2 separate regions of the Homo sapiens genome follow, and region 2 is linked to region 1. Evidence: promoter capture Hi-C in 16 types of primary human blood cells and fetal thymus (Javierre and others, 2016). All regions are on one chromosome and are shown on one strand. Each heading gives the region's core, a stretch centred on a gene start or on the middle of the fragment in contact. The rest is flanking DNA. Distances are from core to core; before and after follow the strand shown. Region 1 holds the start of GHSR (growth hormone secretagogue receptor). Region 2 overlaps NCEH1 (neutral cholesterol ester hydrolase 1).

Region 1 (5,745 bases), core at 1,456-3,955:
TAGTCCAGCAGTTTTTATGTGTTAGACACAACAGACACACTTACGAGGTAAAGTGGTTGTACTCAACCATAGCTGTGTATCCGAGTCTCCTGGGGCACTTTTTAAAACAATGCAGATTCCTTGGATGTAGTATAGACTCAGTCAATTTAAATCTCTAAGAGGGCGATCAGGACATATGTTTTATCTTCTCTTTTTTTTTTTTAAGTTTCACAGAGGATTGAATATACAGTTAGGATTAAGAATCACTGAGATGAATGATTCTATGCCACTTACAATAGACATAAGTAAGGCTATTATTAAACCAACTCATATAAATTATCATCCATCCAAGTCTTCATTTTGCCTATGTAAGATAATTTTTAATGATGTCTAAATGTTTAGATTGTTTTAAATTCAGAAATCAGGGAAAAATAATAACAAATAATTTTTTAGTCGTTGTAACACTTTAGTGATCCCCTTCAAATTGTCAAGGAAGAAGAAAGTTAACATTGGTGTTGAGACACCAATGAAGAAATTAATGGCTTGAAAATAAAATTGGAGGAAATTATTAAACTTATCCTTAAAACTAAGTTGTATAGTAGCAACTTAACTGCCACAGTAACAATGTGACTCTCGTAGGTGAGAGCTTAGGATCCCTTGGAGGACACTAGCAGGTTTATAACCTATGAGTCATATCACGAGAATCACCGGTCCAGAAAATAAAATCTTTGACATTCCTTGAATAAACTCTATCACTTTAATATGGAGGATCCAGGAACTGTAAAATTGGAAATATGAAATCATCCTGGAATGGCTTCTAAGAAGCCTTAAAATATGCCATTAAGTATGAAGTCTTGACTATAATATCTAAATAATAAAATATACAGACCTTGGTTTTGAAAATGCAAGTAGAGTTAATATTTTGCTGGGCTGTAACCATATTTATTATTACTTCACTTGTACCAAACACATATACTTAAAGAAGCTGAATTTGTGCAATAAACATTCAGCAAATCCAGTTATGACATTGTGCCCAGATGTTCCTGAAGGGTCATTTGGGGAAGTAGTGAATTCTGTTGGTTTCCACAAAGTCTCCTTTCCTCCTGTTGGAGCTTTGTTTAATCTAGTTTATCCTTACCTTATCCTAGTCTATCCTACCTGAAGAGGCAGGTAATCATAAAAACAAATGAGACTTCACTGATTTGTCACTGACTTCCTTACAAAGCTGTATGAACAGCAGCAGGGTAAACAGAATTGATGCAATTATCTGAAAAAATGCAGGGCAGAAAACAAATCACAATATTGAAAGAAAAATGAATAATCTCTAAGAGGATTATCCAAATTGATCATGTCTTTGGTTGAATTTACCGCTGAACGCTTTCTAGATCCAAACCCTGCTTTTCTTAATGTAACTTAGATATTCACAAATCCTACTTGAGGCAGGAAGTCAGTCCTCACTTTTAACGCTTAAAGACCACAATGGACTTTTATAAGATATCTCGATTTTTAAAGTGGAGTTTCTGGGCTGATATAAAATTTATTTTAGGGAAATACAAATATGGGACATTTTTGCATGAAAGAGAGAAAGGAGAGACAGGAAGAAAGAGACACAAAGAGATAGAGACGGTAAGAAAGACACTGACAAAGTAAAGGGGGAGGAGAGAGAGAGACAGAGACAGAGAGAAAGATTGAGAGATCAAAAACATCACTCAAGAAAGCAAGAGGAGAGAATAATTGAGAGAAACGCAGAGAGACAGAGGCCCAGAGAAACTGAAGAAAGAGGTAGCGACTCAGGGGGAAATAGAGATGGAGACTCAGAGAGAAGGGAGAAGGCACAGGGAGAGGATAGGACCCGCGAGAGAAAGCCTGAGCGCGCGCTGAGACCCACCCAGCATTTTCACGGTTTGCTTGTGGTTCTGGTCCCTGAGCGAGGCACCCACGACAGCATCGCCGCGCCTCCTCCGCCACAGCTTCCTGCCGATGAGACTGTAGAGGACCGTGAGACAGAAGACAGGAAGGAAGAAGAAGATGCTGGACACCCACACCATGACCGTGAGCAGTCCAGAGCGCACCGCAAACTCGGTGGGGCGGCACTCGTTGGTGTCCCAAGGGTCGGTGCCGTTCTCGTGCTCCACCCCGACTAGCACGAAGATGGGCCCGGCGCTGCAGAAGGCCACGGCCCAGATGACGAAGATGACCAGCTTCACCCGCCCCTTGGTGACCACCACCTTGGCCCGGAGTGGGAAGCAGATGGCGAAGTAGCGCTCGACGCTCAGCGCTGTGATGGTGAGCACCGTGGCGTAGGTGCAGCTCTCACTGACGAATTGGAAGAGTTTGCAGAGGAGGTCGCCGAAGTTCCAGGGCCGGTACTGCCAGAGGCGAACGAGGTCCAGGGGCATGCAGAGGAAGATGAGCAGATCGGAGAAGGCCATGCTGGACAGGTAGAGGTTGGTGGTGGTGCGCAGCTCGCGGAAGCGCGACACCACCAGCATGGTGAGCAGGTTGCCAGCGATGCCCACCACGAAGAGTGCCACGCAGGTGGCTGTGACGCCCGCCAGCAGCGGCGCGGGGAAGAGCTGCAGCAGCTCGTCGCCCAGCGAGTCGTTGCCGGGGGAAGCATCCCAGTCCAGGTCGGCCAGTGTGAGGTTGAACCCCGGCTCTTCGCTGGGCGTCGCGTTCCACATGCTGCCGGCTCAGCTGAACAGGCTCTGGGACGTGACTGCGCTGGGAGGCTGGACCGAGCTGGCTCCCGAGGAGGTCCGCTTAGGCGCGGGAGGGTGCGAGGGAGGAGCGGGTGCAGACGCGTAGGGAGGATGCTTGGAGAAGAAAGAGAGGGAGGTGAGAGGCAGAAGCCGAGGAAGAAGGTGAGATGGGGACAAGGAAGAGGGAGAGAGACTGGTGGTCAGTGGGTGAGAGAGTGACCCACTGCTTTCTCTGACACCTCCCCTTTCCCCCACCAACTCCCCCAAAGTTTCTCCCAACACATCCTCCGGCCGGCGCCCACACGCATACCTGTCACCAGCCCTGCCTCGCATTTGCGTTCTCGATCCAGTTCCATCTCGCACTTCCCAAAGCGTCGCAGCGAGTGGGGACCGCAGGGACCAGGCGCCGCGAAGCGGGAGCGTGAGGCGCTCTCTCCGAAGCCCTGGGCGACGCTGGACTAGTGTGCCCCGGAAGGACAGGTCACACCCGGGGGTGGGGGTGAAGACGACGGTGGCGGTGGGGAGGACACCTTTAGCAGCTGGGACCTGATTTCTTCCTCCACAAGGCTGCAGCTGGCTATGGCCCTGGTGGAAAGAAAAAGCGAGCTTGACCAACTCGACTTGGGAAGGGGGATAGAGAGAGAAAAGAAGGACCTTGTGTTTGTATTCATACCGGTGAGCACCAAAGAATAGTCTCACGCAGTTATAGGACCCAGGTTCAGCGATGTGACTACTTGTCCAAGGTCACACAGCGAGCTGGGGACTCGGGGACCAGTGTCGGATCTCCCACCCGGTTGGGACTTCTGAGCGCACAGGGGCAAGATATGTGAGTAAACCCTGTCCAGAATCCCAGTCCTTTGTATCACTCGGTAGTGGTAGAGAGTCTGCTGTAGGGTATATTACTTTTGCTTGATGCAAACCTGGTGGCGGGGTGCCGAGGTTGGTCAGGGAGGGAACAGGAGAAAGGAAAAAGGCAGGGTTGGAGGTGTGTGGAGGCGGCAAGTGAAGAAGAGGCTGTGAGGCTGGCGCGTCGAGAGTGTGCAGGAAACATTTTTTGAGGCATAACTGAGAGAGATCAGCCATTTAGTAGCCGTATTCCCTTGGGCAAGGTCTTCAACCTCCTGAGCATTACGTCTTTTTCTTTGAATTGCAATGATTTGTGCGGACCACTGGGGGTGATATCAAGTGTCAGGGACCACCGGAGGCACTCAATAAATAGAAGACGCGTTGCTGTTGAGAAGTAGAAGCTGTGCCGGTGGGAACAGGTCAAAGGCCACCCCTACACTAGCAAGGTGACCCTCTGGACGCGGTCTGTGCGTCTCCTGCTCAGAGCCAGAAATCAGCACCCGAAGGCATGAGACTGCCAGTTGCCAGCGAATTCACAAATCCGACCGGCCCCTCCCGGCCCACCGACCTCGGGACCGCCCCAGGAACATATTCAGCACTGTGGCCAGCGCCACATCCATCCTACCGCAAAGCGCCGCTGGAGGAATGGCTTCCCTGTCACTCCCACCGTTTTTAACTTGCGCTTCTAACGCCTCAGTCCTACCCCACGGAGGAGCAGGGCAGACTCCCACGAAGCACAGGCCGGCGTTAGTCACTGCCTTGACCATACACATCGGCGCTCACCCGATGAGATACCACGTACTGTGTATGAGAGAGTATCCCCCTCAGTTGAATGCGTTTGTACTTGCCTTTCACAGACAGTTTGTACCACCTCTACTACCTAAATTGTTAATACTTAAAAGTCCACAAAGACCTAAGACTGAATGTGTGCACAAATGCGTGAAAGACTCCATGCAGTAAATTACTACATGAGAGAAGTTTGATACAGGAAATTTAACATAGTGGTTTGGTTGCCGCTGGTGTGTTAGACATTGGACCAAACTGAGTTTTGTTTCGTTTTGCTTTGTTTTGTTTTGTTTTGCTGGTTTTGTTTTGTTTTGTTTTGAGACGGAGTCTCCCTCTGTCGCCCAGGCTGGAGTGCAGTGGCGCGATCTCTGCTCACTGCAACCTCCGCCTCCCAGTATTGGATCTCCCACCCGTTTGGACTTCTGAGCGCATAAGTCCAGGTTCAAGCAACTCTTCTGCCTCAGTCTCTCTAGTAGCTGGGACTACAGGCGTGTGCCACCACGCCTGGATAATTTTTTTTTGTATTTTTAGAAGAGACAGGGTTTCACCATACTGGCCAGTCTTGTCTCGAACTCCTGACCTCGTGATCTGCCCGCCTCGGTCTCCCAAAGTGCTGGGATTACAGCCGTGAGCCACTGTGCCCGGCCCCAAATTGAGTTTTTAAAACATTAATTTCAGACTACTATTTTTTAAGTATTACAACTAAGTCAAACTACCAATTACAAACAAGTTTTTATTTAATCAATAACTTTGTTACTCCCTGACCTATATTATCAGTAGGTTGATGTATGTGGAAAGAAAGGGAGAGAAAGTGGACTGGGATAAATCAGAATACTATGGGAAGTTATTGCCTAAGACTGAGAATCAGGAAAATATTGTTGGATATATTTCTAGTCTACTCAGTGCTAAAGCTATGGCTGATAGTTGAAAAAACTGAAAACAAAAACCACCAAAACTATTGTGATAAAAAAAATTTTCATGTTAGCTAAAATAGCCAGCCATTTAATGGCACTCAACCAGTTTCTAAAATATAGACAAATCTATATTGCATGACCAAGAAGAAACAGAGGGTGCTATTGTAGTTGCTCTATTTATTCACAACATGTGAAATATTATGTAATACCGTATATAAAACTATCTCTAGTAAGTGGTAGGTACTAGGATAACAAAATAAATAAAACCCAGACAGATCCTATATTTATAAACTTATAGTCTAGAGAGAAAAATACAGTTAAATAAGTAATGCTAGTACAGTATTGATAGGTGCATTTAAAGAGGCATGTACAATGAGCCCTGTTGGAATTCAGAGAATGAATGAACCACGTGGAGGCTTTAGGGAAGGCCTCTCAGAGGAAGCAGCATCTGAGCTGGATCTTGGAAAAGTTCAGTTCCATCAGAAAAAGGAAAACTTGCTCAACCATTCAGACAACGG
Region 2 (5,745 bases), core at 3,140-5,639, 190 kb after region 1:
GGAGATGTGTTGGAGCTGTTTGGGGATCCATCCAGCCAAATATAACCACACACCAAGAGGTTTTGTTAGGGGACATGAAAGTAACTATAACAGAATAGGAAAACCAAATTTACACACTTGTATGTGGATCATTTAGAATATAAACAATTCACTCTGAAAAAAAGTTTTATAAATTCCTCTGGTATTGACATAAACTAAGCATAATAAACTCAAGTGTGAAATTAGATTTATTTGTAATGACAAGGTCAGTTTGAGAACCTGCCTTCAGTGATAGTGATGCTTTGGCTGAAACAATTCAGCTCAAACTCTTGGCATTATGATCATCCTTTTCCTAACATGTGTATTGAAGGTCCCAAAATAGTCCCAGGGCCTGCCTGGCTTTTATGAATATTCTAGCCAGTCCAAAGGAGGGCAACACATACTGTATCCAGACATGAAACAAATGTCATCAAGGAGGCCACTGAACCACCTCTCTAAAGGAAAGACAGCTGGAGTACTCCACTGGGCAGAAGATTGGGAAAGAATTGTGGCTGGCAATTTGGCATACAGAAAGAAGAGAAGAGAACACTGTTTTCAAATGGGAAACAGAAAATGAGACGGGAAAATGAAAGCACATTCCCAGATGGAGCAATTTTATTTCCAAACATGATTCAGAATAGATAGATGCTTTGCTACCTCCACACTGGATTTTCACTTTATAAAATATATTTGCTATTAAAATCATTCATAAAATCTACCTTCCCCTTCGTAGTGGGAAATAAGCAAAGTCAAAGGTTAAAAGGTCATGCATAAAATAGATCCACCAAGATAATTATATAATAGTCTTAAATTCTTCACAAATCAATAAAACATTAATTTATACTTCACTATACAGCACTTCAAGGTTTTTCTTTATATATTAATGTTTATATTTCACAGACAATTTTACAAAAAGATTATCATTTTTTTCATAAAATAGGAAAAGAAAGCCACAGTACTAAAAAAAAAAAATCAATCTGCAGAGTGTAAACATTTTTTATAAGAATACAAACTAAAAGAACAATGAAACTCAAGTACATTATCAGAAACAGTGGTTGACCTCTTTTTTCCTTTACTCCCTTTTCATCTGAGAGAGCCTTTTAGAGATCCGGAATCATTTGCTGTCTGCAATTACTATAGGCTTTGGCTCACAATTCTGGGGAAAATGCCAATTGAAGGAACCCTGCCTATACATTTTATTTTCTTTTTCTTCGAGACAGACAACCTCAAAATAAGGTCCAAATATTGGTTCCTTCAAATGGTGTCAAAAAGAATAGTATTATATGAGGAGGATAGTTATCACAGAATAAGAACTAAAATCCCATTTTTTTTTTTTAGGAAAAAAAGACCTTCGATGATGCAGGTGTCTGTGTATAAGGAACTATGACCTACCAAAAAAACCACCACATAAGGAGAGGCCAATATAATTTGCCAGTCTGACAAGACAGTTGGTATTATAAGTGGAAGAGACCTCAAGGATCACATAATTCAGCTCTTTGATTTTAGAGGGAGGAAAGACGAGGCCCAGAGATGGGAAGTGGCTTGCCTAAGTACATTAGCAAGTTAGCTTCAATGGTTATTTTTATACACACACAGGCACACATACATACTGTTGCATTGACTTCTGTTTTGTACATAAAATGCTACTGGCTCATACAATACATCAATAAGTATGCAACTTTTCATTTGTTATTTCGTTGCTGGAAGTGGGAAATACCCCATCTTCCCAGGAGTGAAATGGTTCTACTTTCTCTCCGTGGTGCCCTGTATCATTACTCAGCTCTGCTGCTGCTCTCCGCAGCCCCTAAAAGTAGCATGGATCGGGGAAGAAGGAAGGACGGCAGGAAGGCAGGCAGAGATCCTCAACTCAAATCACAATTGGAGTGTCTTGTTGTGTCAAAGATGTTCCCACTGGCAGTGAAGACTTTACATGAAGTTAAGCTTGGGCTGTTGAAACTTCCAGACCTGGCTGGAAGGAGGAGATGGGGGATCTAGGCAACACCAGGTGCCAGTGTACGCCCTTCACTCAGAACATGAGCTTGTGTTCCTCTGACCCTAAAAAGCGGAGATGAGCAGTGTGTGCCTTGCCTAAGCTACTGAACTATAAACCTAGATGACTTTACTAGGCGCAGTCATAGTTTCTAATTATTTTAACTTGTATATGCATATAAACACGAAAATATTTATGCCTATGTTATAGTAGTATTAATAGCTGTTATATCATTTCCACAAAATTACACGTGGTTATAACTGTAGGGAAGGTTTTAAAACCCTAAGGCAGTTTTTTAAAAAATACCATTGTTTTTAATATTTATTATGGACATCTTTCTGAAAAACCTTAAGTCTAGCTATGTATATTAACATTAAATAACTTAAAAAAATAAACAATACATTATATTGTAGCAAAATAGCTCCATTTTAAAGCCATATAAGTGAAAAAATTGAGTTTTCAATAATAGACTAGACCTTCTAAAGGTATTTTTAACAATTTTGAACTAATATTAAATGTATTTTCTTTTTTGACTATGCCAAGTATATTCACACTGCTCTTGGTACTTTATGTCAGAAGTATTTTTATGTGAAACACTAGGTTGTTTCATTTGTCTGTTTTTACTTGCTCTATAATGAAAAGTTTACTCTAAATCTAAATAAGTTTGCTCCCAAATATCTCCCCAAGGAGAAGGGGGACAGCATAACCAAAAACACAACAAAAACCTAATGATATATAGATATCCAGTGCATGCGACTTCATATTTTCTAATAGTGGTAGAAAGTAACTTTCAAGTATTCCTGTAATCCAACTGGACTTACAGATAGCGATCTCATAAAATGAACATTCTAGAGGAAGAAAGTCCTTTGAGAAACTTGTTCTTTCCAGAAAACCTTTGCCAAAATTCCCATAGGAAACAAAACCATCCATTCACAAAAGACCAGAGGGTACTTGGTCCCCAGTACTGACCTGAAAGTGCACGCATTTAATACTGCTCTGAACTCAAGGTTAACTCTAGCAGAATTAAGGAGTCCTCGTTTTTTTAACTTATTAAAGGTCACTCTATGATCCAGAGCTGGAAGAACTGCTTCTAAAAAGAACGTCCTAATGAAGGCAGGACCCAAAGTTATTTCCAGTTCCTAGTCCTGCTTTCTGTAGCTGTAGGTATCAGTATAGTTGGCTAAGATAACAAGAACAGAGAGATTGGCCCACTCTGGGAACCAAATTTACATGTTTTGCACTTAAGTTAGTCAAATTCATTTTTAAAAATTAGGTTATCATAAAGACTTCAGTTATGGAATAGAAATTCCATAACTCGCAAGTAGAGGGGAATGGGAGGAAGAATTAGTCAACTAAAAAGTGCATGTCTTTCCAAAGCAGGTGTAGGAGGTCAAGAGGGGCTCGAGGCTTCTGGAAGTTTTGCTCCTTTACAGGTTTTGATCTAGCCACTTGATGTAACTATTCCTAGTCCGGATTCCCACTGAGAAGTTGGTGGGCCAGCTAGTGAAAATCATACATCCGTGAAAGCCATCCTCAAAGTGATCCAGGGTCACCTCCACACCGGCACTCTCCAAACGCTTGGCATACATGATGCCATCGTCTCTGAGGACATCATGCTCACACGTCAGAATGTAGGTCTTTGGGAGGAGCTGCAGCACTGCCTGGTCTGCAATGAGTGGGGCGGAGCGGGCATCCAGCAACTGAGGAAGCTCCTGGACAATCCTGGCATTGCCTGTGGTCTGTACAACAGGCTTGTAGTTCTTTGTGAAGGATGCAGGCAAGAGGGATGTCCAGTTTAGACGGGCCCTGACAGCAGCAGCCTCTTCCACATCAAGTGAAGTGTGATTGTTAACGATCATTGCCTGCACAAAGTCATAGTTGCCTTTGAAGTAGTCCACCCAATACTTCACCATGACATAGCGGGGCAGGATTGGGGTGTTCACATTTTGCTGATAAGATGGTGTGTTAAAATCTAAAGCTTGAAGAACTGGATAAATTAAAGCTTGTAGTTTGAGCTTATTTTTTAGGCTGGCATCTTGAGTAAACTAGAGAAGAGGAAGCAAATACATTATTTCATTTTGCATGCCTTCTTTTATAGGAACCATACCCTGTAGAGTAGCTTCATGTGTTACTCTGAATCTGTCAATGGTATAAGTGTTACATTTCTACCAGGCACTGTATAAATAATAAAGTTTAAAAAATAATTCTCCATCATTACCATCACCACCCTATCAAGCTGCTAGATATTTAACTAAGAAAGGTATGATGTTTACAACTCAGTTTTGAGTGAACCCTGTACTTGTATCTATCTTTAGGCAGTTAAGACACCTAGGTATTATGAATGGATAATGTGTGAACCTTATTTAATTTTTTATTCCCTACAAAACCCCCAAAAAGGTCATGGCTTCCTAGGGGGAAAAAAATTAGTCTTATTCTTCCAGAAGAGAGGGGCAGAAAAAACTTAATAAGCAGATTATGAGACTCCTGAGTGTTTAAGTAGGACCTCAGGGTATGCTTTCTGGTGAGCATCTTCACGCTTGGTGAGACAGAATTTAAATAGTTCTGGCAATGCACCCTCCATTCTACATAATGAGCATATGCCAGAGTGAAGTTGTCATGGGAATGTGAATGAATCCCCTACCTCAACAGATCTCAGTCCCCCAACACCTCCCCACAGTGTTAACATTGCCCCATTTTGTAATTCTAGTGTGCAAAATTATATATTTGTCGTGTAACATCTAAAAGAAAGCTAACTAGTCATGAAGCTTCATAGACAACTAAATGATCTTCAAGGTAACTTTAGCCATACACTTCTGCTTCATACTTGGACTTTAGAAACCCATTCCCAGGTGAGATATGACTGCTCTCCAAAAGCAAGAATGGTCAGTAAATAGCACTTTGAATATGTGCCAAAAATTGTATACACATCACCTCACTAAGTCCTTGCAACAGCCCTGCAATCAGATGACACTGTCCTCGTTTTTCTGAGGCTCAGAGAGGTTAAGGGACTTATCCAGGGCCCCGCAGCACTCAACGGTGGGTCCTGGGTTAGATCCCAGTGCTGTCTGGCTTCAAAGCCAAGAATGTTCTCTCCACTGAGCCAAGACTCTCTTCTGACCATATTTGGATGGAAAACTTGCCAATGCCAAATGGAAAATCAAGTTCTTGAATTATAGCAAAAGAGTTAGAAGCCAAGGTACATCATAATTAGAATGACAGATGGTATTTGAGGACACCAAATGAAATTTGGAGGTGAGAAGACAAAGATGTCTTAAGTTACTTCATCCATAACAGGAAGAAAATGTGCTTTTTCCCACTTGCCAAAAAAATTGGGGTGCTATTAGAAGCTAGATATAGTTTTCAAAGAATTAAACCAGGTAAAGCTCATAGTAACTTGTAAGATAATATTTAAATGGCTGAATCGTTTAATTTCTTTCTTTTACATTAAAAAAAAGTTGGGGAAACAAATTTTAAGGTTTTAATTTGGCTCAAAGTTGTAAGGAACAATCTTAGGAACTGGAATTTAAGCAAAAATACTCCGATTTGCAAGTCAAACATGAAAAAGGAGCAGGGGATACTGGAGTTCCATACATAGCCCTGAGAAGCAAGGGATGTCAGCCCTTCTCTAACACTGACTGTAATCAGGGACTTTACAAAGACTCATAGGTGATACTTCCTCCAATGACTCATCTTCCTACTTCAACGAGATCTCTGAGAGCTCTACAAGTGTAATCACA

What was found. The method cuts DNA at HindIII sites, captures the fragments that hold promoters and counts their contacts. A CHiCAGO score of 5 or more calls a contact.
Region 2: a fragment that was not itself captured here is called in contact with the fragment with the promoter of GHSR in region 1 in 1 of 17 cell types (activated CD4 T cells); the score reaches 5.9 in activated CD4 T cells.

The regions. Positions count from the first base shown.
Region 1 is chr3:172,445,751-172,451,495 of GRCh38, forward strand. GHSR (growth hormone secretagogue receptor) reads right to left here and starts at 2,706. Exons shown (of 2, transcript NM_198407.2): 1 at 1,868-2,706. The coding sequence starts at 2,663. RefSeq lists enhancers at 1,865-2,632, 3,584-4,084, 4,085-4,585. The HindIII fragment of the contact is 14,293 bases long and covers 1-5,745 here.
Region 2 is chr3:172,630,040-172,635,784 of GRCh38, forward strand. NCEH1 (neutral cholesterol ester hydrolase 1) reads right to left here. Exons shown (of 5, transcript NM_020792.6): 5 at 210-4,053. The coding sequence ends at 3,436. Among named protein-coding and RNA genes, the nearest start is that of LINC02068, 37 kb to the left of the region's middle. The HindIII fragment of the contact is 763 bases long and covers 4,009-4,771 here.